Regions from separate parts of the Homo sapiens genome. Here all the other regions are linked to region 1. Evidence: promoter capture Hi-C in human tissues and cell types (Jung and others, 2019). All regions are on one chromosome and are shown on one strand. The core of a region is centred on a gene start or on the middle of the fragment in contact, and the rest is flanking DNA. Distances in the headings are between cores, read along the strand shown. Region 1 holds the start of HAO1 (hydroxyacid oxidase 1). Region 2 has its middle 16 kb from the start of FERMT1. Region 3 has its middle 47 kb from the start of BMP2. Region 4 has its middle 120 kb from the start of BMP2.

The links. Contacts are between HindIII fragments. The study calls those that stand out against the background at their distance.
Region 2: a contact is called between a fragment that was not itself captured here and the fragment with the promoter of HAO1 in region 1, in 1 of the 25 tissues and cell types used here (lymphoblastoid cells).
Region 3: a fragment that was not itself captured here is called in contact with the fragment with the promoter of HAO1 in region 1 in 1 of the 25 tissues and cell types used here (dorsolateral prefrontal cortex).
Region 4: a contact is called between a fragment that was not itself captured here and the fragment with the promoter of HAO1 in region 1, in 1 of the 25 tissues and cell types used here (dorsolateral prefrontal cortex).

The regions. Positions count from the first base shown.
Region 1 is chr20:7,938,536-7,943,621 of GRCh38, forward strand. HAO1 (hydroxyacid oxidase 1) reads right to left here and starts at 1,923. Exons shown (of 8, transcript NM_017545.3): 1 at 1,751-1,923. The coding sequence starts at 1,887. The HindIII fragment of the contact is 11,188 bases long and covers 1-5,086 here.
Region 2 is chr20:6,136,204-6,141,289 of GRCh38, forward strand. No RefSeq gene overlaps it. Among named protein-coding and RNA genes, the nearest start is that of FERMT1, 16 kb to the left of the region's middle. The HindIII fragment of the contact is 8,301 bases long and covers 1-5,086 here.
Region 3 is chr20:6,811,924-6,817,009 of GRCh38, forward strand. No RefSeq gene overlaps it. Among named protein-coding and RNA genes, the nearest start is that of BMP2, 47 kb to the left of the region's middle. The HindIII fragment of the contact is 3,349 bases long and covers 650-3,998 here.
Region 4 is chr20:6,882,948-6,888,033 of GRCh38, forward strand. No RefSeq gene overlaps it. Among named protein-coding and RNA genes, the nearest start is that of BMP2, 120 kb to the left of the region's middle. The HindIII fragment of the contact is 3,499 bases long and covers 1,263-4,761 here.

The DNA of each region.
Region 1 (5,086 bases), core at 673-3,172:
AAGGCATGAGGCACTTTTCCAGTTCATAACTTAGAAGTCACCAAGCCTTCTATGTCTCCCAAAGTTTCTACATTTTAAAGGGTTGCATAGGTGATCCATCTGCTTTGGGGCGCCCCTTTGCATCCTCTCTGAGACCTCCACTTGGCCAACTATTTTGGGCCCATTTTGCATCAATTCAACCCAACAGCATTATGGAGGCTGATATGCATCCAGGGGAATGTAAGTTCCTAGGGACAGGAACTTTGTCTGGCTCACTGCTTTGTCCTCAGCATGTAGTACACAGTGTAGCTCATGGAGACTCCTAATTAGCTCTAGTTAATTAGCTAGCATGCGACAAAGGGAATTAAGAAGTAAGGAAAGCTGTATACAAATGAAATAAATAATCACTTGAGCATTGGAGGTCTAGCAATGCTGAGACACTAACTCTATAAATCTGTCAAGGGTCTGAAATTTCCTTGGTTGTAATAACCTATTTGGGTTAAAGTGTTTTCAAGAGACCACTCATAGGCAAATTTTGGTGGACAAAGTTAATATCGGCCCAAGAAGGGGCATCTTCCAAGAGCAGAAACTTTTAAATGAGTCCAAAATAGTAAATAATGATGCAGAATTTTAAGCCCCTCTACTCTCAGTCAACTTCCCTTCCCATGACTTCCCTGGCATTTGTTGAGCTCATTTGGGTTCCAGGCAAAACCTGAGACAAAGTCAAGGCTTGAAAGGGTTGGGGAGAGGCCGTATCCTTCACCCCATTGCCATTTTCAGTCTTCTACATGGATTTGTGGGTGAATCAGTGCTGCCTACCAGAGACCACCTTGGCCAGGATAATTTTATTTCTCCTAATTTAAATATGGAAAACTGATTTTGAGTGATTTTGTTGTAGACTAAAGAAGAAATCAGGGAGGAAGGCTAATTCTCTCCCCCTGCATATTTTCTGCCTTTTTGTCTTTATCACCATCAATGAGTACCCACAATACCGATTGCCTTTACTAACAGCCATAATGTTAGATGGATGAGACTGAGTGTAGTGTAGTGAAGGCACTCCTCTCTTGCTCCAGCAAATAAACCATTTTTGTAACTGCTATAAAAAAAAACCCTTTGAAATGATTTTATTTCTTGTTTTTATTACAAACAGAAAACATAAACCATGTCACCCACCATCTTGTGCTTTGAAATATGAAAGTCAAAGGAAAACTAATTTGGGAAGAGAGATGAAGTGCTTTGAAGGAGAGATGAAACAGCAAAGTTGAAAGATTAATGCTGCATAGACAAATTGAAATCTAAAGTGAAAGTTTAGACAACAGTAATCAAAATGAATGATAACACGAAAAGCCAGCAGGAAGAAAACATTTGAGCCAACAATCCAGTCTGGTTCATCCGGATAAGATGGTTATCTGGCATTTAATGCTGTTTCCTACACCATGAACATAAGCATTTACTGTCATACTAAGAAAAAGAAAAGTCATCCGAATTTATCGCTATTTTTACATGTAGTTAAATTAATTGTTGTCATATTTCCAAGTGAAGTAACATAGGTTTGGCTTTTGCAGTCAGTTCCTCAAGATTCACAGGCTTGGAATATTTTTTAACAATTTAAAGGCCCAAGATTTCTTACAGCCCCAAGAACTTTTCCCTCTCTACTAAGCACAAATCTGAACAAATAATTACACACCACCAACGTAAAACTAGGAGATCTTATTTTGGTACGGTCTTTGTGTAATTTTAAAACATGATTTTAAAAAATAAATTTTCTTACCTGGAAAATGCTGCAATATTATCAGCCAAAGTTTCTTCATCATTTGCCCCAGACCTGTAATAGTCATATATAGACTTTGGAAGTACTGATTTAGCATGTTGTTCATAATCATTGATACAAATTAGCCGGGGGAGCATTTTCACAGGTTATTGCTATCCCAGATGGAGTTCGTTGTTTTTTTTTTTTTAATGTATTGCTTTCTACATCCTCACTGTTCTGTTATTTGTCAATTATTAATAGACTTTTGCCAAAGTTCAGATTTAGTTCTCTGTTGCTTACATCAAGTGAGCAAACATTATATGCTTAGCCTTTGAAATTTCATTTGTAGGCTATCTGCCAAAGAACACCGAAGTCACTATCTGCCAAAGAACACCAAAGTTGAGGTTGGGAAGGCAGCAGAAGGTGATTAGGTGTCTATCACATTAAAAAGGGGAAAGGAATAAGTAAAAAATTAAAGACTTAGAGGAATACCTGTATGAAACCACTCTTGGTTCAGTTTTGCCTAAGGCTGCTTATTGCACATGGTCTGTGCCTGTGCTCTTTGCTTGATACCCAGAATAGGCTGCCCACTCATTTTCTTTCCACATTTGGATCATGCACAAATCATGTAAACAAGAGCTTATGAACTGAACGGGGCATCCATGAAATATGGGGCATCCGTGAAATTCAGGGCTTCTGCACAATATAAAATTTAGCTGATTACAAACATAGACATTTGGCTTTAACATGGAACATTAAGGCCAAATTGACAGCTAATTGTTTTATTCATTCTGTATATTTGAGGTTTACAACATGATATTATGAGATACATATACACAGAAAAATGGTTACAGTAGGGAGGCCAATATAATATATGTATCATCTCACCCGTAATTACTTTTTTGTGTGTATGACAAGAACAGCTAAAATCAACTTATTTAACAAAAATTCCTAATATGATACAATTTTATTAACTTTAGTCCTCATTTTGCACGTTTGCTCTCTAGACCAGGGGTCCCAAACTCCCCAGCATGGACTGGTACTGGTCCGTGGCCTGTTAGGAACCAAGCTGCACAGCAGGAGGTGAGCAGCCGGTGAGCAAGCTTTACAGACTGAGCTCCGCCTCCTATTGTGAACTGCACATGCGAGGGATCTAGGTTGCGCCACTCCTTATGAGAATCTAATGCCTGATGATCTGAGGTGGAACAGTTTCATTCCAAAACCATCCACCTACCCCCACTGCCCATGGAAAAATTGTATTCCACAAAACTTGTCCCTGGTGCCGAAAAGGTTAGGGACCCTGTTGTAGATTTATGTATCCTACGTGTCTACTATTTTGTATCCTTTGACCTATATCACCCCTTTTCCTCTTCCCTGCTTCCCACTAGTGGTATTCACTGTTTCATTCTCTAGCTCTGTGCATTTGAAGTCTTTTTTAAAACAAAATCCCACCTATAAGTGAAATAATGCAATAATTTCCCTTTTGTGCCTGGCTTATTTCACTTAGCATAATGTTCTCTGGGTTCTACTGCAAATGACAGGATTCCCTTCTCTTATAAGGCTGAATAATATTTCATTGTGTGTATATCTATACATTTCCCTTATCCATTTGTCTCTTAATGGGCATTTAGGTTTACCATTAATTCTTTTTTTTTTTCTTTTTGAGATGGAGTCTTTCTCTGTCTCCCAGGCTGGAGTGCAGTGGTGTGATCTCGGCTCATTGCAGCCTCTACCTCCCAGGTTCAAGAGATTATTCTGCCTCAGCCTCCCAAGTAACTGGGACTACAGGCATGTCCACCACGCCTGGCTAATTTTTGTATTTTTATTTAGTAAAGATGGGGTTTCACTATATTGGCCAGGCTGGTCTCAAACTCCTGACCTCAAGTGATCCAACCACCTCGGCCTCCCAGAGTGCTGGGATTGCAGGTGTGAGCCACTGCACATGGCCTACCACTAATTCTTAGAGTCTTATCTTGCCCTGGAGAGGGTATAGGGAAGTGCTATTCCAAAAGACCTGTGGTCTCAGTCTATAATTTCACTCAATCATGGAACACCTGGGGAAGATTCACATTAGTAGGATATGCTTGAGAAAGCAATGATTTTAACTACAGTTAGACCTGAGTTTCAATCTAGGAGCCGCCACTTAAAGCTGCTTGCCAGTTGTTCACTATCTACATTCCAACCACCTACACCTGTAGGAGAACTTGCTCTTGAACTTGGAGCCTGCTTTTTTCATAAACATAGCATGCCAAATAGTATAGTTCCATACCCTGTGGAACAGCCCTCAATCACAAGCCCAAGAAAGTTCATTCTTCTGGTGGGATTACTCCTAGGATTATGTTCTACATTGCAGGTTTCAGTTATCCACAGTGTGAGCTGGTTGATAATCTATGCTGTGTTGGCTATGTTCCTTTTTTGTTTGTTTTTTGTTTTGAGATGGAGTCTCACGCCGTCACCAGACTGGAGTGAAGTGGCGCAATCTCGGCTCACTGCAACCTCCGCCTCCCAGGTTCAAGCAATTCTCCTGCCTCAGCCTCCCGAGTAGCTGGGATTACAGGCTCATGCCACCACACCCAGCTGATTTTTGTGTTTTTAGTAGAGATGGGGTTTCACCATGTTGGCCAGGATGGTCTTGATCTCTTGACCTCGTGATCCGCCCAACTCAGCCTCCCAAAGTGCTGGGATTACAGGCATGAGCCACCGTGCCCGGCCTGGCTGCCTTCCCTTCTAATCAGACTTCCCTACTCCTCATTGGTGCTCCCTTCACCTCCCAAATAAACTCCTTGCATTTGAATGCTTGCCTCTCAGTCTCCTTTTGGTGAAACTCAAACCAAGACAAAGAGAAATATTCATCCCTACCCTGAGGAGTGACTGTGAGGACAAAGGATATATCATCGCTTAAACACCTGGCATATAGTAGGCACAGTTGACCTTTGAACAAAAAAAAGGGTCCACTTATATGTAGATTTTCTTTAGATTCTTCCACCCCTGAGACAGCAAAACCAACTTCTCCTCTTCCTCCTGCTCCTTATTCTACACAATGTGAAGATGACAAGGATGAAGAGTTTTGATGTACCACTTACACTTTATGAATAGTAAATATATTTTCCCTTCCTTATGATTTTCTTAATAACATTTTCTTTTTTCTAGCTTGCTTTATTGTAAGAATACAGTATATAACACATGTAACATATAAAATATGTGTAAGTTGATTTTGTTATTGGTAAGGCTTCCAGTCAACAGTAGGCTACTAGTTGTTAAGTTTTGGGGGAGTCGAAAGTTTTACACGGTGGGTCGGTACCTCTAACCCCCATATTGTTCAATGATAAACTGTATTTCATTAATATTACCCACCCT
Region 2 (5,086 bases), core at 1,739-4,238, 1.8 Mb before region 1:
GACACTAACACTTATTCCATCTATTAGGTGGTGCAAAAGTAATTGCTCATTTTGCCATTACTTTTAATAACAAAAACCACAATTACTTTGGCACCAACCGAATAACTAGCTGTAATTTTGTATTCTCCAACAAATCTCTCCCTATCCTTTCCTTCCCCTTCCCAGCTTCTAGTATCCTCTGTTCTGTGCCTGGCTTATTTCCACTTAACATTATATCCTCCAGTTCTATCCATGTTGCTATGAATGAGAGGATTTCATTTTTTTTTTTTTTTTGTGGCTGAATAGTACTCCATTGTGTATACATACCACGTTTTTAAAAACCCATTCATCTGTTGTTAGATACCCAGGTTGATTCCATGTCTTAGGTATTGTGGACAGCACTGCAATTAATCATGAGGGTGCAGCTGGTTGGTGGTTTCTATGATAATCTACTATTGAGGACACAACTGCCTTAATTATTCCCTTCTCTCCTCCTTAATCTTATTCATAGTTAAGAAAAATGGATTAAAGAAGAAACACAGAGAAAGAAGTCTCATGATTCAGCTAATTCTTCATTCATTTATTCATTTGCTCTCATTCACCCATTCATCCAGAAAACATTTATTCCATACCTCCTGTGTGCCAGGGACTATGCCATAAACACGTCCAAACCATGGTGGTGCTTCTGTGATTTCTTTCACTGGAAAAAATTAAAATTTATTTACAAAATGAACATTATCACAAGGATCCAGATCACTATACTGAGTCTTTCCATTTGTAGAATCACCCCCTCGACACACATCAACCCAACCATCCATCTAACTCACCTACCCATTCACCCACCCATTGCCCTATTTACCCTTCTACTCTCCCATTCACAATTCACCCATCTCTGCGTTTATCCACTTATCTGTTGTATTACCTGTTCATCTACCTAACTATCCACAAATGAACACCTCTGGCCTGCCTAGCAATATTCCTAGGCTCATTCGCTGATTTGTTCAATCAATCAATATTTGCTGAGTGTCTTCTAAGTGCCAAACACTTTTTAGGTGCTGGAGATAAAAGTGATGGATAAAAGTGGGGATAAAATGACAGACTGCCCTCATGAACTTTGCCATACATGTGTGAAAGCAGACATTAAACCAATACTTAGGAAGATAAAATGTGAGGCTTCTTCTCCCTCTCTCCTAATGTCCTTTTTCCTGAAATCCCTCTCTGTTTGTTGTGCTTGAAAGCATTGATTTTGGAAAATGTACAAAGCACTTAGCATAGAAAGATAACTGGGTTGGAGAAAAAGAACATCACTTCCGGAGATGAGTGGGATTTATGTCCACTAGATTCTAAAATCCTGGAGGGCACGAAGAGTGTATGTTTCAATTCCTCACTTTATCCTCAGAGCCCGTTACCCAGTAGGCACAAAACAAATTTTTGCTAAATGATAAAGAGGGCAGAATCACTCTGTCATTTTCTGAGTTTTGACTCATTGAAATGTTTAAGGAAAATCATTTTTAAAAAGAAGTTAAGGACCAGGCGCAGTGGTTCATGCCTGTAATCCCAGCACTTTGGGAGGCCAAGGCAGGAGGATCACTTGAAGTCAGGAGTTTGAGACCAGCCTGGCCAACATGGTGAAACCCAGACTCTACTAAAAAAATACAAAAATTAGCGGGCATAGTGGAGAGTGCCTGTAGTCCCAGCTACTCGGGAGGTTGAGGCAGGAGAATCGCTTGAATTCTCCCAGGAGACTTCTCACTCCTGGGAAAATTCAAGCCAGAGGTGGAGGCTGCAGTGAGCTGAGTTTGCACCACTGCACTTCAGCCTGGGCGACAGAGTGAGACTTGGTCTCAAAAAAAAAAAAAAAGAAATTGAGACCTTAAGTACTATTTTTGCAGATTCTTGGAGCTGTTCTAGCAGAGGCAGAAAATCATCCCAGGAAACAGAGAGGTTTTGTAGACTGAAGGATCCAGAATTGATAATTTAGAGTTGATTGAATTTTAAGGACTCCCAAAGAAATACGTACAAATACCAGGAAAAGATATAAGAAATACTAGTATATAGGAAACAAATACTAGGAAAAGAATATTCTCAACACCTCTAAGCTTGGCAGGATGGAGACAGTCAAACAATTCGGAGGATATTTTCTAACTATCTACAAATGAGCACCTACAACCTGCCTGACAACGTTTTAAAGCAAATATTAAATAAGTATTTGCTTTTAAAATGTATTTTCTTGTATTATAAGATGCATGTTGGCTGGGTGTAGTGGCTTATGCCTGTAATCCCAGCGCTTTGGGAGGCTGCGTTGGGAGGATCAGTTGAGCCCAGGAATTCAAGACCAGCTTAAGTGATGTAGTGAGACCTCCATCTCTACAAAAAATAAAAAAAATTAGCCTGGCACAGTGGTGCACCCCTGTAGTCCCAGCTATCTGGGAGGCTGAGGCAGGAGGATCGCTTGGTCCAGGGAGGACAAGGCTGCAGTGAGCTGTGATGGCACCATTGCACTCTAGCCTGGGAGACAGAGTGAGACCCTGTCTCAAGACAAACAAACAAACAAAAAACTGGTGTGTTGGTGGTGGAAGATTAAGAATGCCCAATGAGAGAGCCCTGTGTGGAAACCCATTCCCCTCTCCTCAGGGGACCACCTGTATTCTTCTACTCACTTTTTGGGAGAGCTCCCAAAGGAACCCTAAGCTGTTTCTATGGCCCTCTGACCGTCCTTTACTGAGAAGACACCAAAGGGAAACAAAAGGCAGTTTTATGACATGTCTGGAAGGTGGGGCGTTCAGTCCAGCAGCTTAGGACTCAACCGAGAGACACTGGGGCAGGTGGGCATATGTGGAGGTTATGAACAAATACAGACTCTAGCTTCAAGAAGATTCCCTCAGTCTTCCCAGGTAAGGTGATTGCTGGGACCCAGACAGCCCTCAGGTAGCACTGGGGAGGGTGGAGGTCAAAGAAACCTCACACCCCACACTTCCCAGTTGTTGAGTCTTTGGAAGCCTCTTAATTAAAGTCCCTGACATGCAGAAACAAGTTATCCATTGCTCCCTACCCAGAAATGATAACCTTGCTAATATTTTGATATAAGTTCTTTCAGTTATTTTTTCCTGTCTACATGTAGACAAACATACATAGAAAAGTATTTTTGGCAATAATGGAGTGTCATGTTTTTATTGTTTTGTAAACTGCTCTATTTAAAGGATTAATGTACACATATTTCTATCCTATTAAATATTACCAGTCAGTGGGTATCTGTTTACTCTCTAGTGTTATCATGGTACTTGCTAAGGAATTTTAAAGATTTTTTTTTTTTAAATTTTACTTTAAGTTCTGGGATACACGTACAGAATGTGCAGGTTTGTTACATAGGTATACATGTGCCATGGTGGTTTGCTGCACCCACCAATCCATCATCGAGGCTTTGAGCCCCACATGCATTAGGTATTTGTCTTAATGCTCTCCCTCCCTTTGTCCCCCAGCCCCCAGCAGGCCCCGGTGTGTGATGTCCCCCTCCCTGTGTCCATGTGTTCTCATTCTTCAACTTCCATTTATGAGTGAGAACATGGGGTGTTTGGTTTTCTGTTCCTTGTTAGTTTGCTGAGAATGATAGCTTCCAGCTTCATCCATGTCCCTGCAAAGGACATGAACTCTTTTTTATGGCTGCATAGTATTCCATGGTGTACATGTGCCATATTTTCTTTATCCAGCCTGTCATTCACAGGCATTTGGGTTGGCTCCAAGTTAAAGATGTGTTTATCAGAGTTCCTAGTGTTAAGGAGATTATAATTTAGCTAACAAGAGGACATACACATTTAAATTGGTATAGCAATAAAATAATAAAATAACACAAGACAGCATAATAAGAGTCTACATATTACAGCTTGGGGAAGATTGTTGTTAGGAATATAGACTCAGATGACTTGAAATTATCTCAGTGATATTGTTCACTATATGAGTTTGTCACACCATCATTTTTAGTCTGCTCATCGACAAAATAGGAATGAGGATAAAAATAATGCTGATATTGAGGGCTTATTTTGGGGATAAAATAATAACAATACTGATAGTTATAGTAATAGTGGCATTTGCATAGACCTTACCATGAGCTGGGAACTGTTCAAAGATTGTAACACATATTAACTAACCAAACACAGTGGCAGCCCCATGAATCAGGAGTCACAATTATCCCCATTTTACAAATGAGGCAGTGCAGGCACAGAGAAGCCAAGTAACCAGCTCAACGTTGTATAGCTAAGAAGTGTCAGGCTGGCTATAGCCAATAATAATTTAATTGTACATTTAAAAATAACTAAAAGGGTATAATTGAATTGTTTGTAATACAAAAGATAAATGCTTGAGGGGACAGATACTCCATTATCTATGATGTAATTATTATACATTGCATGCCTTTATCAAAACATCTCATGTACCCCATAAATATATGGACCTACTATGTAGCTGCAAACATTAAAAAAATTAAAAAGAAGTGGCGAAGATGAAATTTAAACCCAGGCAGCTTAGCTCTTGTCTGGACTATATATTTGAAAAAGGTTTTGAAACTGGAAAATGCTATGTAAGTGGGGTTATGATTTGTTATTGGTGTAAATGAAAAGTTCCAAACAAGGGGACTAAGCAGCAAGAGGGATGGGCTTCAGTGCAGGGGGCTCACTGCTGATGTGAGGGCTTGGGCAGGCTTCTGGGAATGGTGGACCTTAGAATGGGGGCAGGGAGCTTCTCCACTTGGAAATCAGCTTCCATCCTCATCTTTCATTAGATCAAGAGTGAAATCAGAAAGAATGTTCATTGCAAATGAAGAGACCCATTTCAAACTAGCTCAGGAAGAAAAGGAATTTATTGGCCATAGCTGGGAAGTCTGGAGGCATGGCTGGATCCAGAGATTCACCCAAGACCTGCCTCTTTCCTGCCATCTTTGGCTCTCTTCTCCTCTGTGGTGGCATCATTCTCGGGCTGGCCCCACCTGGTGGAAAGGATGACCTACAGCAGCTCCAGCCCAATAAAACCGCACAGTTGGAGACAATGATTTGTTCTGCAATGTCCTGGGAAGGCTTCTCACAGCCTGGCTGGAGGCACGTGCCCACTCTTGGGG
Region 3 (5,086 bases), core at 1,074-3,573, 1.1 Mb before region 1:
GCTCAGCTCCATTGGTTGTAAATCCACAGATTGTGGTTGTTCTCTGCTTCTAGAAGAACAGCCTTCACGATTCTGCCTGACTTTCAAATGCCTTTTATACTGGCCTCATTCTGATTAACCAGAGCCGTGCTTTTTTCCACAGTTAGATTGGGTGTGCTTACTTTAAAATATTCATTGAAAAATAAGATATTACTTAATATGATGTTATTGAATACAATATTCAGAAATAACGTATTCAAAAATATTTTTTAAAAACCACATGAAAAGAGTAATATGTGTTTATAGAGTATATATATATGTATGCGTGTGGTTAAAAAACTTCCAACAGTACAGAAAGTAAAAAAAGAAAAAAGGAAAATTTCTATCTCTTTCTCTCTTTCCAAAGGCAAAATGGATAAAAAGTCTTAGGAGTCACCATGATTTCTCCAACACTGGCCTAAGGAGCACCGTCATTAATGTCTGCCTGGATGGAGAAATAAGCCTCAATTTAGGAAAATCTCTAGGCTTGAAATCTATTAGGGAACTCCTCTGTACCTTGCTTTTGTAATTTAATAAAAATATAGCTTAGAAGGCGTTCTTTTTTTTTACTTTTTTCGTTTTCCTCCTCTCCCCTCATAGATGTTTTTTATCTGTTCACAGACCCAACTCATGTAGTAGAGCAATGGTTCTTAAACTTGAGAGCACATTGAATTCCCTGGAGGACTCCGTGCACTTCAGATGATCCACAGAGCTCCTGATTTAGTAGGTCTGGGGTGGGGTCTCCGAATTTGCATTCCTGAGTAGCTCTCAGGTGCTGCTGTGCTGCGGGGTGGTGTACTATCTTTAGGTAGTGCTGTCATTGATTGCTTCAAGCCGACTTAGAGATCCACCTCGGCAGTTATAATATGCCATTGTTTGAACTTACCCTGTTTTTATCTAATCTCATATTGTCGGACACTTAAGTTCTTTCCAATGTCTTCCTGTTATTCTCACAACAACCTTAAGATGAGATAATAAGAATAGCTACTATTTTTGAGTACTTAGAATGGGCCAAGCACTGTGAATTACTTTATCTGCATAGCACTTCTATCCTGAAGGTACTACATTATTCTTGTTTTACAGGTGAAAGAACTAAGTCTAGGAGAAATTAAGTAGTGTGATTAAAATAAGAAGTGAGAGAGGCTGGGAATCTAAGAAAGACTCATCTGGTTGCAGAGTCCATGTTCTTTCCAGGGTCTCCACCCACAAAAGTTTACAGGCTAGTTGGACAATTAAGGATGAAACACAATGAATAAGAATAACAGAAGTAATGATTGCCAGAAGCAAGGCAGAGGAGAGAAGTTGGCTTAATCAAATAATCCAACTGTGACTTTGCATCCCACAGGGCCCTGTGCTTAGAAATGCTCCTGTTTGCTTTCCTGCTCCAGTGTCATTGTCTTGAAATTCTTAACAATTTTTTAACAATTGTCCCGTATTTTCATTTTGCATTGGTCTCCACAAATTATGTAGACACTCCTGGAAGGGTTAATTTAGTCTTCAAACTTCAGCCAGCCAAGAGCTTTAGCAATGACTTAGTAACCACATTTTACAGATGATTTTTGTAATGTTTTTCCTACCATGCTTTGTTTTTACCCTCCAAATGGACACACTCTTGGGCTGATGTTTTCTACCTGGAATTTGTTCAGGGAGGTATTTTCTTGACAAGAAGAAACATCATTAGGATGATAAATATGAAGGGAGATAATACTATACACAGCTTTCCAAAATCAGTCAGAAATGTTGTCTTTGGTGGGGGGGACGAAATCATTTGTTAATGCTGCATCTCCTGCCCCTCATTGGTTTGCTAATATATGGCTATTTAGCTGTAGTTGACAGCCTCTGAAATTTATTATTTTTATATAAAGCAGATATTCTTTTTTTAATTTCATTTATTTTTATTTTTTATTTATTTATTTTTTTGAGATGGAGCCTCACTCTGTCACCCAGGCTAAAGTGCACTGACACGATCTTGGCTCACTGCAACCTCCACCTCCCGGGTTCAAGTGATTCTCCTGCCTCAGCCTCCCAAGTAGCTGGGGTTACAGACTCCTGCCACCATGCCTGGCTAATTTTTGTATTTTTTAGTAGAGACAGGTTTCCCCTTGTTGCCCAGGCTGATCTTGAACTCTTGGGCTCAAGTGATCTGCCCACCTTGGCGTCCCAAAGTGTTAGGATTACAGACGTGAGCCACCGTGCCAGGCCAGCAAAGTAAAGATTCTGAAGTTTTGCTACATTAACTAATTTTCATCTATTTCCCAGGGAGAAAGAATTATTTTCACTTTTATACGCTAAAGCTGGGAGAATTCCACTGTGAACACAGCGCACACCAACTATGCCCCAGGGGAGTGTTGCCTTGTGTATTACATATTTCACACCATAACAATGTTATCCGATTTTATAATTAACATTAAACTTTTATAGGAAAAAGTACCTTGTTATACTAGTTGTTAACCTTTGGATATATTTAAAGCTCATTTCATAAGGAGCCATATGCTGCTTCATCACCGTCCTAAGTGGGCTGTGTTGCTAAGTGTTATGGGATCTGGTAATAAAAGATACAAACACAATGTGTATGCCCAACAACAGGGGCTGAATTAAGGGAGCAACGGGAGCCTTAACTCTTGAATTTCCTGACTTCTGTGGGTTTCATTTGCAGTCTCAACATTCCAGTAATACTTCGCTTTCTCACACCACTTTTTTATTCTTTCTTCTTCAACATCCCCACCTCCTCTCCAACCCTGATAATAACTGTTTAAACATTCATACTCACTTGCCTACTGCATTGAGTTATATGATTAGTTTGTACCCTTTTAGTGCCATCGATGATAGGGACTCATTATTGAGTCAATGTTTCTAAACTATGGCTCTCTGACACAAATCAATCTGCAAAACGTGTCAGAAGAAAGTACTAGTGAACCCAACAAGTATTTAGACCATTTTTAAAAAATGTAAGCAGCTTACGTGGGGATACATTCTCAAGTGTATTTTTAGAGTAAAAATAGAGAATGGTAAAAAATGGCCATTGAAAAATCTCTTACGTCATTTCTAAAGAATATGTGTGGGTGTGTATTTAATATAACAATGATCTTCACAAAAGCTTAAAGAACACTTACACCAGACCAAAAGAAGGAATCAAAGAATTAACCTTCATGCAGACACCGGGAAACCATCTGTGTCCTAGCATTTTCCTAGGGGTGAAAAGGGAACGGGTGGGTGAGGCTAATTGTGTCTTCTTATCTTTCTGGGGTTTACTTACTTTTTAAAATAGTAAGCATTCAAATGTTAATTTATGTTAATTGATTGCTTGTTCATGAGGATTAAGAGAATTTGTGGAGTCTCATTGGATGGAGGGTAACGTTTTAAAGTCAGCACCTGAGTTAAATTTGATGCAAATGTATATTTCTGGCATTAACTTGAATTTCTGTAATATTTCTATTCAGAGAGTTGAGACATTTTGATTGCATTATTCTCCAACTTCTAGGAAAATGTAGTAATTCAGTTAGATTGTGTGGAGCATAAAGCAGTGCTTCTCAAACTCCAATCAGCCTATGAATCCCCTGGTGAATTTTTTTAAATATGGATTTGGTAGGTTTGAGATAGGACCTCAGATTACATGTTTTCAACAAGTCCCCAAGACATGTTGCTGCTGTCGGTCTGCAGACTACATGCTGGATAGAGAGAGTCTAATGGAATAAGTACTGCAAACTGGGAAAACGGTAGTCATGATACCTAGCTTTACTTATGCCTTTTTGTGCAAAATGTCTTTATTTTAGCTTCTTCACTTGAAAACAAAGTGAGGGAGAGGAGGTTACCTTGCTAAGTTTCTTCTACAGATGAGTGTTTACTCCTAGTTGGGGCGTATATACACAATACCTTTAATATGAAAATATTTATGTTACTACTTATAATGTATGCATACATATTTTCTGCTTAACATTAGAAAAACACAATACTGAAACTGTTAATAGCTACATCCAGATATGAGTTTTGAGTTGCAGACTAAATATACAGAGGTGAAAGCATCTCTAGGGGTGAAATCAACTACTGGTTGGTTGTCTCCTATGTCTGATGCTTTTTGTTTTACTTTAAAAGAGCCCAGCCTGAAATGTTATAACCTTATTTAACATAGCCTGCTCAGTATTTAATTATCTTTTGAATTAAAAACCAATTATCTATGTTTAATTTAAACTCTGCAATTTAAAAGACTGTGTCCATGGATAGGACCTCAGCTAAATGTGAGAATATATATCCACTATCTATTTAAAGAAATCACAGTAGGATATGATTTATTTCTCACAAGCCGTGAAATTTCCTTTCAATATAACAAGGCATTTGGGGGTTAAAAATTAGATTTTTTACCTTGTACATTTGTTTAAGTTATTTGTAGATTCTGGCTATTAGCCCTTTGTCAGGTGGGTAGATTGCAAAAATTTTCTCCCATTCTTTAGGTTGCCTGTTCACTCTGATGACAGTTTCTTTTGCTGTGCAGAAGCTCTTTAGTTTAATTAGATCACATTTGTCTATCTTAGCTTTTGTTGCCATTGCTTTTAGTGTTTTAGTCATGAGGTCTTTGCCCATGCCTATGTCCTAAATGGTATTGCTTAGGTTTTCTTCTAGGGTTGTTATGGTTTTCGGTCTTACAAACAAACCCATAAAAAAGTGGGCAAAGGATATGAACAGATATTTTTCAAGAGAAGACATTTATGCAGCCAACAGACACATGAAAAAATGCTCATCATCACTGGTCATCAGAGAAATGCAAATGAAAACCACAATGCGATACCATCTCACACCAGTTAGAATGGCAATTATTAAAAAGTCAGGAAACAACAGATGCTGGAGAGGATGTGGAGAAATAGGAAAGCTTTTACACTGTTGGTGGGAGTGTAAATTAGTTCAACCATTGTGGAAGACAGTGTGGTGATTCTTCAAGGATCTAGAACTAGAAATACCATTTGACCCAGCAATCCCATTACTGGGTGTACACCCAAAGAATTGTAAATCATGCCTTTATGAAGACACATGAACATACATGTTTATTGTGGCACTATTCACAATAGCAAAGACT
Region 4 (5,086 bases), core at 1,762-4,261, 1.1 Mb before region 1:
CAGAAACCAAAGTTCTCTGACACCACAAGCCATTATGATTATCTTAGGCTTGGGGGATGATGGCTGAGTCCACTGGGTTGGCAAAGTAGGGATGCTGTTGAGGGTGTTCCAACCTACCTATGTCATCCTTCCCATGTTGCACACTTGTGCTGAGTTAACAGGGCGATGTGCTCTGTAAAATCCGGTTCTGTAAAGACATGCACTAGCCATGAGTCATTAGCAAGCATGCGAAGCTAATTGGCAAAATACTCATAAAATATTTTGAAGGTGGGTTAATTACAATTCATTACACAGTAAACTGTCCCCAGGCTATTGTTAAAAAGTACAGGAGTTTCAGGGCCCATTATTTTATGATTCATTTTGCCATGTTGTGAAAAACAGACTCTAAATCAAACTACATTTATTATAGGTCAGACCACAAAATCTTTATTGGTTTTTCCAACATTCCACCCTTGTTATATGAATTCATATGGACTGCACATTTCTGTCAATTGGCAAGAAAGCATGAAATAAAATTTATGATATTTTCTTACCTTATCCTCAGTGTAGCCTTAAAAATCACAAGATCTAATTGCTTCCCCTACTTCCCCAAGTTCATGCAAGAAATAAGTATTTCAAAATCAACTCCAAAGTTCTAATGATTGAAAGCAACTAAAGCATAATGAAATCTGTCTTCTAAAGTAAGCATCTTAAAGAAAAACTCAAAGCAACATCCACTTGAAATGTGTTGAAGCTTTTTTCCCGCTCTACCCAGTAAAATATCTAGAATATACTTTACATTTGGAGGATAATTTGAAGTTCATTGGCTCCATAACACAAATCTTGTTCTCCTCATCTCTACCTTTGAAAGCATCTTTCTTTTTTTTTTTTTTTTGAACCAAAGCAAGCCCTCAGCATTTATTTCTTGAAAAAACAAAACAAAACAAAAACCCTCTGGTACAGTTGTGTGCCTCCTGTTATTACCATAGGCAGATTTGGTCAGAATCATGTAAGGCCTCATAAGTAGTCATTCTGTACCATTACATGTAATTGTTTGTTGATTAATGCTTTCAATTATGTTGATTTTCACTATGTGACCCAAACCACCTTGACATAGCCAGCCTGGTATACTCATTACCGGGGATGAGCAAGGAACAAAATGCTAGGTTCACTTCCAGCCTCCAAGAGTTCAGCAGCTCATTTGAACCTTATCTGAACTATCAAAAGTTTTGACTCTGCAGAAACCTGTGTTTGGGGAAGGGGCAGGAATGTGTGGCTCAAGAAAGGCTTTAGGATGAAGTGGGGGTTGTGGGGGGAGATGTTGGAAATTGTGCAAAAACTAGTTTCCTTGTGAGTGATCAGGTACTTCCTGATTCTGGCTGGGCCAGAAATACCACAAAAGCCTTTCTTGAAATTTCTGAGATCTTTGGAAGGTCTTCCTCCAAGCAGTTTGCCAGTTCTGCATGCCTGGGTTTTGGCTAGGGCTGGAGACCAAAGTATGTGCAAGAGGAAACCGTTTAATAGAAAGTTACCTGTATACTTAAGAATTGTCAAAAGAGTTTTACCTCTACTAGAATAAAGCCTGAATGGTTTGATCAGTGTCAATGATCTTAACCACTCCCATTCCTCATAGAAAGATGAAGCTGAAAGATGACATTGGAAATTGCTAATGCAACCCACTTATTTTATAGGGGCAGTCAGGATATCCATAGAAACTATTGACTGGGTCTATACACATGTGGACCAGAGTGAGAACTAAAGAGCCAGTAGAGGAACAAAAGAGGAAGAAAGGGGAGCCAAGCTGTTGAAAAGCTTGAGTTCTGTCTTTACTCTGCCATATTAGTGGTGTGATCTTAGGCAAGTCACTCCAATTCTCTGATCCTCTCTGGATCATTTCAACCACAAAATACTAAATTAAATGTTGTTGTAGGATGAAAGTACTAAGAAAGGGTGATTTGGAAGCCAGACCAAGCTGGATGAAAAGAGTGTCAAATTGGGAAGAGAAAGAATGGCAGCTAGGAAATGCTGGTGAGTTGGAGAGAAAACATTGAGTGGAAACAAAAGAAACTTGATGGGAAATGACTATTTTGCATTGAGTAACAACAGACAATCATAACATAACTTGAGGAGAAAGTAAAGTTGTTTGATGCAATTTTAAAAGATGTCAAAATAGCCTTAAGTTTTATGAAATAAACGAATATTCCAAAGAGGCAAGCATGAAAGGAAGAAGTGTTCAAATATGGGAGACACTAGGTCGGGCGCGGTGGCTCACGCCTGTAATCCCAACACTTTGGGAGGCCGAGGCGGGCAGATCATGAGGTCAGGAGATGGAGACCATCCTGGCCAATATGGTGAAACCCCATCTCTACCAAAAATACAAAAAATTAGCTGGGCGTAGTGGCGGGTGCCTGTAGTCCCAGCTACTCGGGAGGCTGAGGCAGGAGAATGGCGTGAACCCAGGAGGCGGAGTTTGCAGTGAGCAGAGATTGCGCCACTGCACTCCAGCCTGGGCGACAGAGCGAGACTCCGTCTCAAAAAAAAAAAAAAAAAAAAAAAAAAAAGGGAGACACTAGGACAAATTAGTTTCCTAAATCATGCTTCACGGGACTAAGGGCCAGAGCACAGAATACCCCACTACTTCTTCCTCAACCAGAGCAGTTGCCAGTTTATCTCTTCCAAGCAAGCTTTTGTTTAAAGAACGTTTTCTGAAGCTAAGGAAAAAAATTTCTAATTGCTAACCTTGCAAGAAATCAAAAAAACGAGTGGTACTTTAATGAGTTCATTTATTGTGACACCTTTAACAGATACAACTGCAGGCCCTTGAGTGAATGAAGATCTGAAGTGGCTGTTCTGTGTAAAATACACGTGGATTTTGCAATGTGGCCATTCTAATTGGCAGGTAACTTCAACATCAGAAATCTCCAAGCTGGGCTCTCTGAGGAGAGCGGGACTAGCTCTCTTATAGGCACCAACATTGCAGTTTGGATTATGGTTTTTTGACGAAGGGTATTCAGTGTGTCAGAGGGAAGGAAGTCCAGGGCCAGGGTCAGCCATCTTTCCTTCTGCCCGCAGTAATGTTGACCTCTCGAGGAATTGATGACAGTGGAAGAGTTCGGGAAAGGAAAGGGTGGTCAGTAGCTCCAGAGTATAAACATTGGGAACAGGTTTGAGAAGAATGCTCAGGAAAATAGAAACAACTAACCAGCAACTAAACAACTAAATTGCCTGACAGGGAATCATGGAAGCTAATCAATGCAAAATTGGTGGTCAGGTAGGGGCGGGCAATGTTGACATTGAAGTCTTGTGGACAGGCTTCCTGTGTTGATTTAGTAACCACACAATGGGTAAGGGAGAGGGGATCTCTGATCATAGCACCACTAATACTAGGATGCTTCTCTTTGACAGGCATAGGGTATTTTTTTTCTTTTAAGCATTAAGTAAGTGAGAAGATCACCTTCCTTTCTTTCTCTTTTGCCCTAAGGGCCTGCCCATTTCCAGCTGCGTAATTACCTCCTTCATAAGCCTTTACTCTGAGGCATGAAGGCTCTAGCCAGTACCCTGACTAACTCCCTGCTGGGGATGCCTCCGCTGAACAGAGCAGAGAGACCTGCTGATTTCAGAGCCAAGCGCAGAAAGCAGCTGGCTCTTAACTTGTTGTTTAAGAGAGCCAAGCAGAACAGAGCTGACGATTGCCTGGCCAGTGGGAGCCTGAGCCAGGCACCTGTCAAATCCTGCTTTGCTGGGTTCTCCTGCACCCTGCTCTGCAGTGCGCTTTTCCGAGACTGGCGGTCCACACCCCACAGGCTTTCTCCCTCTACAGCCAACCAGCTGCCAGCACCCCTGTAAATTCTTTCTCCAGCTAATATTTTGATCCCTAAGCAAGTTTCTCTCTCTTTTACTGGCAGGAAAAAAAAATGTCAAAAAGGGAAAATGATGATGTCTCTATTTTCTTCTGATAGCAGGCTACCAAACACTCCCAGCATATCCATTCTTTCGCTTTGGGAAAGAGGGAAGGCAAAGTGGTCTTGACGGTGTGTGTGCAAGGAGAGACATTCGAATGTGTATTTTTACCTGTCATTTGGGTCTTGAGAAGGTTGAAGTCTGCATATGGAAAAACTGGCCCTTTCTCTTCTCAGTTCTGAGTTTTAGAGTTAGTAAACTATGTAAATTATTTTATTTCTCTGTGCTCTGCATCCAGGCTGATGTCCTGGAGAGAGGGCTTTGAAAAACTGCCCCTGAAGCTATTGGCATTAACTGAAATTGATGTTTCACAGGACTGGGATAAAGAGGGTTATCAGTAGCTCAGGCCTGGCCTGCCTTGGGGACCACTGCCCACTGGATTACCTATTGGCTTAGGGCATAGGCACTGGCTTAGGAATTAAAAGTACTAAGTTCCAGACAAGCTCTGTTTGTGAAATCACTTAGGCCTCCAGCAAGCTTTAGCTTTTCCAAGGTTTTAGTGCTCTCATTTGTAGAATGAGACGGTCAGTTAGACATCACCTCCAAAACGTTACGAGTTTCATGAATCTGGCTGCACTTACTTTGTGGAGCCATCAGCCCTAACCTGAAGCCTGGGAAACAAGTAAACGTGTTTCAAGTTTCTTAAAAGTTGCTTTCTCAAGTTACTTCCTTTCTTCACACAAGAAATGAAAGGGAAACACTGCTGCAAAGAGCCCTGGAAACAGGTCCTGATTTTAGAAGAGAGCCTTGAGATGACAGGGGCATGGATGTCCTGCACATTCCTTCAGCATAACCGCAGAAAGCCTGCATATATTTTTCGTTGTTTGTAATTGCAAACTTTTCTAAAAATCTACCCTTTAGAAATGATTGCCTTTCTCTGAGGATCAGATCACAGTCCAGCCAATTCTCAGAGAAAATTAAACAAAGAATACTGAGCCTGGAATCTGTGATTAGGATGCCTGGCGAAGTAAAAATGACCGTGTACTTTCCCAAGTGGGTCAGCTATGGCCCCAGATATCCAAACAGGATGGCACATGAATCATGCCGGTTTGATGGGCTCTCTCAGGCTGGATTTACAGCTGGATTTAGGACTAAATGTTGGAGGTAAATCTAAAGGAGCAGAAGGGCTGGGGAGGGAATGGGAAAT